3 separate regions of the Homo sapiens genome follow, and all the other regions are linked to region 3. Evidence: promoter capture Hi-C in 16 types of primary human blood cells and fetal thymus (Javierre and others, 2016). All regions are on one chromosome and are shown on one strand. The core of a region is centred on a gene start or on the middle of the fragment in contact, and the rest is flanking DNA. Distances in the headings are between cores, read along the strand shown. Region 1 overlaps CPED1 (cadherin like and PC-esterase domain containing 1). Region 2 has its middle 170 kb from the start of FAM3C. Region 3 holds the start of WNT16 (Wnt family member 16).

Evidence for each region. The method cuts DNA at HindIII sites, captures the fragments that hold promoters and counts their contacts. A CHiCAGO score of 5 or more calls a contact.
Region 1: a fragment that was not itself captured here is called in contact with the fragment with the promoter of WNT16 in region 3 in 2 of 17 cell types (total B cells and naive B cells); the score reaches 15.6 in total B cells.
Region 2: a fragment that was not itself captured here is called in contact with the fragment with the promoter of WNT16 in region 3 in 6 of 17 cell types (non-activated CD4 T cells, naive CD4 T cells, activated CD4 T cells and 3 more); the score reaches 7.2 in non-activated CD4 T cells.

What each region holds. Positions count from the first base shown.
Region 1 is chr7:121,142,083-121,145,261 of GRCh38, forward strand. It overlaps CPED1 (cadherin like and PC-esterase domain containing 1), which reads left to right. Exons shown (of 23, transcript NM_024913.5): 16 at 1-59. LOC124901735 (a long non-coding RNA gene) reads right to left here. Exons shown (of 3, transcript XR_007060494.1): 3 at 1,782-3,179. Among named protein-coding and RNA genes, the nearest start is that of CPED1, 150 kb to the left of the region's middle. The HindIII fragment of the contact is 7,707 bases long and covers 1-3,179 here.
Region 2 is chr7:121,562,083-121,565,078 of GRCh38, forward strand. No RefSeq gene overlaps it. Among named protein-coding and RNA genes, the nearest start is that of FAM3C, 170 kb to the left of the region's middle. The HindIII fragment of the contact is 440 bases long and covers 1,180-1,619 here.
Region 3 is chr7:121,327,615-121,330,445 of GRCh38, forward strand. It overlaps WNT16 (Wnt family member 16), which reads left to right and starts at 1,386. Exons shown (of 4, transcript NM_057168.2): 1 at 1,386-1,773; 2 at 1,953-2,203. The coding sequence starts at 1,679. The HindIII fragment of the contact is 8,913 bases long and covers 1-2,831 here.

The sequences.
Region 1 (3,179 bases), core at 535-3,034, 190 kb before region 3:
GAGAAGACCGCCCAAGTCTGCCCTTGTTTGAGGCCTTCACAGCATGTGGTTTTGTGCAGGTAAGTGAAGTTTACATTTGCACTTGGGTTGAATTGGGAATGATCTGTTAACCCAGGCGGAAAATGCCAAATGAAAATTATTACAAGAAATTGTATGCCTTGAAATCGAAACTGTGGTCTCATTTCAAAAAAGTGAGAATCCCAGCCAGGTATCTAAGTCACCTCGTTGTGAGTGATTTTCTTTTTAGTGTGATGGCTACTGTCTGTGCTCATTGTTTTCAGTGGACTTATTGTGGTTAATGTTCAAAAAAAATGTCTGAGGACTCACACTTAGTTGTGAAATCGGTTTCACATTTTCCTTTTAAATTGGGCTATTTTTCTTGGATTTGTCCCTGGATCTACTTTTGAAATGTTAAACTAGATTTAGTAGAATTTACTTTGAAGAATAAGAGGAAAATTTATGAAGCTATTTTACAAGACGGATACTGGATAAATGAAACTAAATTTGCTTGGGATAGTTAAATTTCTCATTCACTTCTCATACAGTAATCATTTTGCAAGGCTGTAGTTTCTCTTGTGAGCAACACATACCATTTTGTAACCTTGTTCATTTTGGAGAAGGATGAATGTTACCCTAACACTTTTGTTCTACGGTTTTTCCCTATTTTTGCTCTTTTAAGGATCCCATGTATAACTTTGTACAGTTCCTCATATCATATACCCCTTGCTACAGGTGATTCCAGGGAAGTAGTAATTGGTATTTTTATCACATATCTATTAATTCACTCAGAAAGTATACTTGCAAATATATCATGTCACATTATATATTACTGGGAGCTTTGAAGAATAGCTGGTTAGTAAAAGAGAGGTATTGCTGACTGGGCCTTGATAGGTAGCATGGTTACCATGTTTTTTATAAATGTAACAGCCAGGCACAGTAATCACCCCGCCACTGTCTTATCTGTTTCCAAGAGCTTTAAAAATCTCAGGGATTGGTATAATTTTTATTTTTTGAGGAAAACATATCACTAATTTAGGAATTACCACTAAATCAAATGGAATTTCACATTAGTCTGAAGATTCATTCAAAGAAAGACAAATATGTTATTCTCAAAGATATTAATAAGCACACTTAAAAAAGAGTAGAATACAGTTCCATGGTCAAATAAACCCATTGGTTGATGAAGCAATAAGCTAAACAAAGTTAAGTAGATGTCTTTACTATAGGACTTCCCTGAACCTCTAATATAGTAATTTAAATGGTGGTTCATTTATAGTACGGAAAATATATAGTGTGTTTCATTTCCAAACTTATTTGATATGGTTTTAATAGAATAGCTATTGATATTTTTGTGGGACAGATTTGAGGAAACACTGGTCTACACTATGGAGAAGACTTTAAAATATGTTCCTCTTAGGTTTTGACCTTTCAATTTGCTTTATTTGGATTGCTGTCTCAACTTGCTTCTGAATTGAAGAACAAATAATATAGCCACACCAAAAATGTTTAAAAAAATAAACAAAAACTTAGAGGGAGGTGTGCTTTTGTATATTTGTGTATATTTGTGTGTATAATTATTTCTAAACTAAATATTCTTACCCTTTTTGGTGGAGCATTTTTTTCATACATTGCTGGGAGAAGTGTGAAATGTTTGACCACTTTGGAGAACTTTGGCAGTATCCACTAAAGCTAAATATGTATAAATGATTCAGCAGTCCTTCTAGCTATACACCTAAGATAAATGAAGTCATATGCCCATAAAAAGACACACACACACAAAATCTTCGTATTGGTTTTATTCATAGTAGCTAAAAGTTGAAAAAAATTCAGTAAGAAAGGAAACAAATCCAATATTATACTATTGGGGCATTAAAAATAAATGAAGTATGGATACACACAAATATGAAACAATCTTCAAAACCTTACATTCATAAAAACAAGCCAGACATCAATAATGAATGCTAGCAAGGATGTGGAGAAAAGAGAACCCTTGTACTCTGTTTGTGGGAAAGTAAACTAGTACAGCCACTGTGGAGAACAGTATCGAGGTTTCTCAAAAAACTAAAAATACAACTACTGTGTAATCCAGCAATCCCACTGCTGAGTATATTTCTGAAATAAAGGAAATCAGTATATTGAAAAGCTATCTGCATTCCCATGTTTGTTGCAGCATTATTCACAATAGCCAAGATATGGAATCAACCTAAGTGTCCATCAATGGATGAATGGATAAAGAAAATGTGGTACATATATACAATGGTGTATTACTCAGCCATAAAAATGATATCCTGCCATTTGCAACAGCATGGATGGAACTGGAAGATATTAAGTGAAATAAGTCAGGAACAAAAAGACAAATATCACATGTTCTCAGTCATATGTGGGAGCCAAAGACAAGTGGATATCATGGAGATAAAGAGTAGAATGCTGGTTAACCATAGTCTGAGTAGGGCAGTGGAGAGGCTGGGATGAAGAGTGGTTGTTAATGGGCACAAAAACACCAATAGAAGGAATAAGGTCTAATGTTCAATAGTATAACAGGGCAACTGTAGTTAGCAGTAATTCATGGCATATTTCAAAACAACTAGAAGAGTGGAATTGGAATGTTCCTAACACAAAGAAATGACACATACTTGAGGTGTGATAGATATCCCAATTACCCTGATTTGATCATTACACATTGTATACTTATATCAAAATATCACATGTATCCCATAAATATATACAACTATTATGTATCCACAACAATTAAAAACAAAAAAAATTAAAAGAAGCCAGATATATAAAGAAATACTGTATTTCACTTATATGAAGTTCAAGAATAAGCAAAACTAATCTATGTTTATAGAAGTCAGAATAGCAGTTACTAGAAGGTGTAGGTACAACTAAGCATGAGGGAATTTTTTGGGCAAATGTCCTATATCTTAATCTGGGTGCTGGTTACATATATAACTAGGTGCTATATAGATAGATACAAATTTAATTAACTGCATTTAAGATTTTTGCAATCTACTGTTTAAAATTATACAATATATCAACTATACATGTGTATTTGTGTATATATATATATAAATTATGTATACTGCATATAAATTATACCTCAATAAATTAGGAAAAAAGATTGGTGGGAAAGTTATATATTCCTTTCTTCCATGACACGTTTCTCCAATGTTGTATTG
Region 2 (2,996 bases), core at 150-2,649, 230 kb after region 3:
TCATATACTTGTATGTTCTTGAAGTGCATGTTTGCTTTTTTATTTGCATCGATGGCTTTGTACCATAGACTGAATTCTATTTTTTGCATATTTTAACTCCATGTGTTTTAAGATCTATTTATGTTGGTATATGTATATCTCATTCATTGTTTCTAGTTGCTACATAGTATTCCATTGTGTGTATCTACCACATTTTATTATAAGATGCCCTGTAGATAGACGCCACTGTTGCCTCAAACTCTTGACTATGCAAGCAAAATGATGATTATCCTTGCTCACTACCCTTATGGACATACATGTGAGTTTCTCTGCAATATAAATGCAGGAATGATCTTTTTGGATCATAAATTCTCTGAGTACTATCAGGTTACTATTCATGAAATTGTTACCATTCCTGAAATTGTTGCCAGAGTATGTGACCCTTAGCAATGCAGTGGCTCCTCATTTATCCACATAGTTCTCAACATTTGGTGTTTTTGTAGTCTATGTTTTGCCAATCTGAGAAATACAAAATGGTATGTCATCATTTCAGTTTTCATTAATCTGATTACCAGTGGGTTTCAGTCTCTCTGGTTTTCCTTCTTTTTCTAAATGATCTACCTGAGTTTCTATTCATATAGAAATAAAATCTTTTGACTTGTTTAGGCTCTATATTTTCTACTAATCTTGTTCAACCTTAATTTTGATGTAATTGAGTATGCCACCTTTTCACGTTATTGTTTTGATTTTGGGCCTCCTGTTTCAGAAGCCCTTCTGTACTCGTAGGCTTATAAAGATAATCTCTTACATTTTCCTTAATTTCATTTCAGTCTTTACTTTCCCAGTTAGGTCTTTAACTCTTCTGATGTTGACTTTTGAATATCATGCCTTACTCTATTTGATATGGTGGGCTACTTTTTCCATGGAATCCTTATAATGACTTTCACACATTACTAAATTCAAAATATGTGTCATGAATAAGATGATGTTTTAAGCACAATAGCATTTTAAAATAACCAGTGATGATCTATTTCTACACATTGATAACATCTATAAATTTTCAGGTATCGTTCGTGTGTGTTTGCTAGATATTTATGTATTTTATTAGCTGGGATGATCTTGTGAAGCCCAATGACACAAATAGTAGCAGAGAGAAGGTATTTGGCTAATATAGGTCCAAAATATGTCCAAAAACGTCAAAGCTTGTGGATTTATGGTTTATTGCTGGGAAGAGATACAATAGAGCAATGGCATTAAAGTAATCTATATATCCCAGCCAAAGGCTGCTTTCCAAAAAGTGGAGAAGCTGGTTCCAATTGTCCTCCCTCTGCAGGCCTGTGCTAGAATGCACTTTTTCTCTCCAGTCAGGAATGACTGATATGTACATCTAACATCCAGGAACCAGGAGTCTGGGCTGACCTTTTTATATCATACTGGTCACATAGGCATCTTTTTGCAATCTAATCAGTAACAGAGCCTTTAGGGATCTCAATAACAACAGGTGCAAACCATCAATCTCACCATTTACCAAAAACAATGCTGATAAGCTGGTACACCTTAGACCCATGTTTCCTCAGATCCATATTTTCATGCGTGTCCATGTGAAGAGACCACCAAACAGGCTTTGTGTGAGCAATAAAAGCTTTTAATCACCTGGGTACAGGCAGGCTGAGAACGAAAAGAGAGTCAGTGAAGGGAGATGGGGTGGGGCTGTTTTATAGGATTTGGGTAGGTAAAGGAAAAAGGGGGTTTTTCTCTGGCGGGCAGGAATGGGGGTCACAAGGTACTCAGTGGGGGAGCTTTTGAGCCAGGATGAGCCAGGAGAAGGAATTTCACAAGACAATGTCATCAGTTAAGGCAGGAACAGGCCATTTTCATTTCTTTTGTGGTGGAATGTCATCAGTTAAGGCAGGAACTGGCCGTCTGGATGTGTACATGCAGGTCACAGGGGATATGATGGCTTAGCTTGGGCTCAGAGGCCTGACATTCCTGTCTTCTTATATTAATAAGAAAAATAAAATGAAATAGTGGTAAAGTGTTGGGACAGTGAAAATTTTTGGGGGTGGTATGGAGAGATAATGGGCGATGTTTCTCAGGGCTGCTTCGGGCGGGATTAGGGGTGGCGTGGGAACCTAGAGTGGGAGCAATTAAGCTGAAGGAAGATTTTGTGGTAAGGGGTGATATTGTGGGGTTGTTAGAAGAAATATTTGTCTTGTAGAATTATTGGTGATGGCCTGGATATGGTTTTATATGAATTGAAAAACTAAATGGAATAAGAGAAGGAGAAAAACAGGTATAAAAGGTCTAAGAATTGGGAGGACCTAGGACATCTGATTAGAGGGTGCCTAAGGAGATTCAGCATAGTCCTGCCAGCAAAGATTATTTATTTACTTCAAGAGTTAAGAGTGGCAGTTTGGGGATAGCACCAGGAGATATCAGCTGTGGTGGCTTGGAGAAACAGTGTAAACTGGCAGTGTAAACAAGAGCAGGGCATGTATGAGTAGTTGAGAACGGCGAATAGGAGTATGACTAGACAGAAGATAGTAGGGATGACAAGTTTTTTGGGGCACAGTCTAAGTTGGTCTGGTGTCTGGAATGAGACTGGGGCCTAATAAAAAGGAGCGTCAATACAGGAGCTCAAATGGGCTGTACCTTGTAGCATTCCGAGGACAGGCCTGAATTCTGAGAAGGGAAAGTGGTAAAAGTATTGTTCAGTCCTTTTTAAGTTGGTGGCTGAGCTTGGTGATGTGTGTTTTTAAAAGACTTTTAGTCCGTTCTACATTTCCTGAAGATGGAGGACCATAAGGGATATAAAGGTTTCACTGAATCCTAAGAGCTTGAAAAACTGCTTGGCTGATTTGACTGATAAAAGCTGGTCTGTTATCAAACTACATAGAGGTGGGAAGGCTAAACTGAGGAATTATGTCTGACAGAAGGGAAGAAATGACTGCGGTGGCCTTCTCAGACCCTGTAGGAAAGGCCTCTACCTATCCAGTGAAAGTGTCTACCTAGACTAA
Region 3 (2,831 bases), core at 136-2,635:
GCTGGGATTACAGGTGTGAGCCACTGCACCTGGCCCCAAATCCTTTATTTAAGTAATTTTGGCTTTGGGTACCCACTGAGCTGATACGTCCACCATGGGAATGTATTAACACTTCAAAAGATCTCTAAGGACAGATAATGCTTCTTAGAAACATTTCTTGTGTCTAATTAGGTGAGGCAGGCTTTCCCAATACCACAGCTAAACACGTTGCACTTGCCTTCAGATAACTCTCGGAGACCTTCCATCCTACAAAACACTGATTAACTAACCTTCCAAATCTGCCAGTAACTGGAACACTTCCTGCTTCTGAACTATCTTCGGCTCCAGGGAGTACCCTGCTAGATTCTTTAATCTCTCTTACTGATCATCTAAACGTATTTTCTTTTACACTTGTGTATGGTTTATTTGTACAGTTGTGGGAAGAGAGCTTGTCTTTATAAATTCCCACAGGACTAGGCACACAGCAGGTATTTAATAAGTACGTTTTTAAAAATGTGTCTTCCATGTGTAGCCCTGTCCTGCAGGGACGCATCGGGTAGGTGGCAAAGGGGTGCCCAATCCTAGCGAACTTTCAACTGAGGTTGGGGGAGAAGGGCAGGGACCCTCCCACCATGAGAATCGTAAGGTAGGACTGGAGAAAAAGATCAGAGCACATCTCTCATGTACTCTAGAACTCTCCAGAAACCTCTCACTTTCTTTGTCCCCATCTTCTGCAGGGGACTTACAGCGTTCTCAGGGACTGCAGGAAATAAGACAAATAGGGAAAAGGAAATCACAGAGCACGATTGAAATATGGCAGATGAGATGCTAGACTGGAATCTTCTCTTTCGCTCAAAATAAATGCATACATAAATGACAGTGATTGTAAGCCTGACAGCACTTCACCCACTCTCTAAAGTCTCCTGACAGTGGGACCTCAAGCAGGGGACTGGAAGGTTAATTTGTTCGGTACCAACTCTGACTCAAAAAGATTATTCTCCTGTGAGGTGAAGGAGAAGAAAAAAAGGTCAGTGACATTTTCCAGCCACTACACCCAGAGGGTAACCCAGATGTTGGTGGGATGGGTGGGACTCATCAAACCCACGCTTTCCCCCAAGGTTGCTAAGACAGAGCGTCCTGTTAGTCTTCGGGTTGAATCAACCCCACAACGACCCGTTCTAAGGAGACTGTGACAGCAGGAAAGGTCATGACACACCCAGGTCTGGACACGCTGTCCCTGAGGCCAGTGCCCGGAGCGCCCCCCGCGGAGCCGCTCTCCACCAATAAGAGCCTGAGGTCCCGAGATGATGAGATGCGGGGCCGCTGCTCAGCCAATCAGGCTCCAGGCGCGGCCAGGGGGAGGAGATGGGAGGAGAGGCCGGGGGCGATGGAGACGCGGATACATCAACAGAAGTTTCTCACCTAGGAATGCGAGGGGCGCTCCCGCATCTCCTGCACATCTCCACCCCTGCGCAGGAGGAGATCCCCAGGCTGCTCTCTCCATCTCTCCTACAGCTCCCTGCAAACGAGGGGGAAGCTGCTGAGAGTCCCTATCACTGCTGGCCTTTTAATGTTGTATGCAAGGAGGAAGAGGGCGAGGGATAACTTGGTGCTGGACAACTGACCTGCGGCCCGAAGGGCCTCTGGGGAGGGGGTGCAAAAGAGGAGCGGCTGGGCTGGGGGACTCCATGCGGGGGCGATGGACAGGGCGGCGCTCCTGGGACTGGCCCGCTTGTGCGCGCTGTGGGCAGCCCTGCTCGTGCTGTTCCCCTACGGAGCCCAAGGAAACTGGATGTGAGTATGGAGGTGGCAGGGAAGCATCGGGTAGGTGGCAAAAGGGGTGCCCAATCCTAGGGAACTTTCAACTGAGGCTGGGGGAGAAGGGCGGGGACCCTTAGACGAGTGACCTAATTTTTCGGAAAACATCTGGAATTGGGGAGCGGCTTAACGCTACGGGCGGCCGTGTCTTACAGGTGGTTGGGCATTGCCTCCTTCGGGGTTCCAGAGAAGCTGGGCTGCGCCAATTTGCCGCTGAACAGCCGCCAGAAGGAGCTGTGCAAGAGGAAACCGTACCTGCTGCCGAGCATCCGAGAGGGCGCCCGGCTGGGCATTCAGGAGTGCGGGAGCCAGTTCAGACACGAGAGATGGAACTGCATGATCACCGCCGCCGCCACTACCGCCCCGATGGGCGCCAGCCCCCTCTTTGGCTACGAGCTGAGCAGCGGTGAGTCCTGGGTCCTTAGGGGTTGGTGGGGGACGGAAGGCGACAACTCCTCCACCGGTTCCTGCAAATAAAGTAAATAGTGCTACGTGGTCCTGTAGCTCTCTAAGTTCCAGAAGAAGCCCTTTAGTGCACGGGGATTGAGAGCTACAAAGGCCAGACCTGGGGAGCAGGTGCGAGCCTGGAGGGAGGTGACTCCCCAGTTCCAGAGCGGAGCTCTAGGGGCTGGAGCTCTTCCTCTTTCCTGCGGTGCCCCGCCAGAGTTGGAAAAAAAACTCTAATTCTCCTACCCCGCCGACCCCCTCGGACCCCGTAGCGCCCCCCTACGTGGGTGACCAGCTGGAGAAACATGATGTCGGCAGCGGGGAATGCGGCTGCCGCATCTGCTTTGATTTAACCAACTCCGCTGCGCACCAAACCCCGGACAAGTGGCTAATTGCAGCGAAGCCCCACCTTTATTGGCTCCTAGGAGCACCGAGTTGACAGAATAATGGTGACTTTTAAAGCGACTGTCCGCGACCACCCAACGTGCGGCTAACCTGAGCAGGACCACTTGTGCGCTTCTCGTTTCTTTGGCTTTTCTATCTTTCCCTCCTCGGCGCACTCCCGCGGCGCGGGAAGCTGCAGGAAA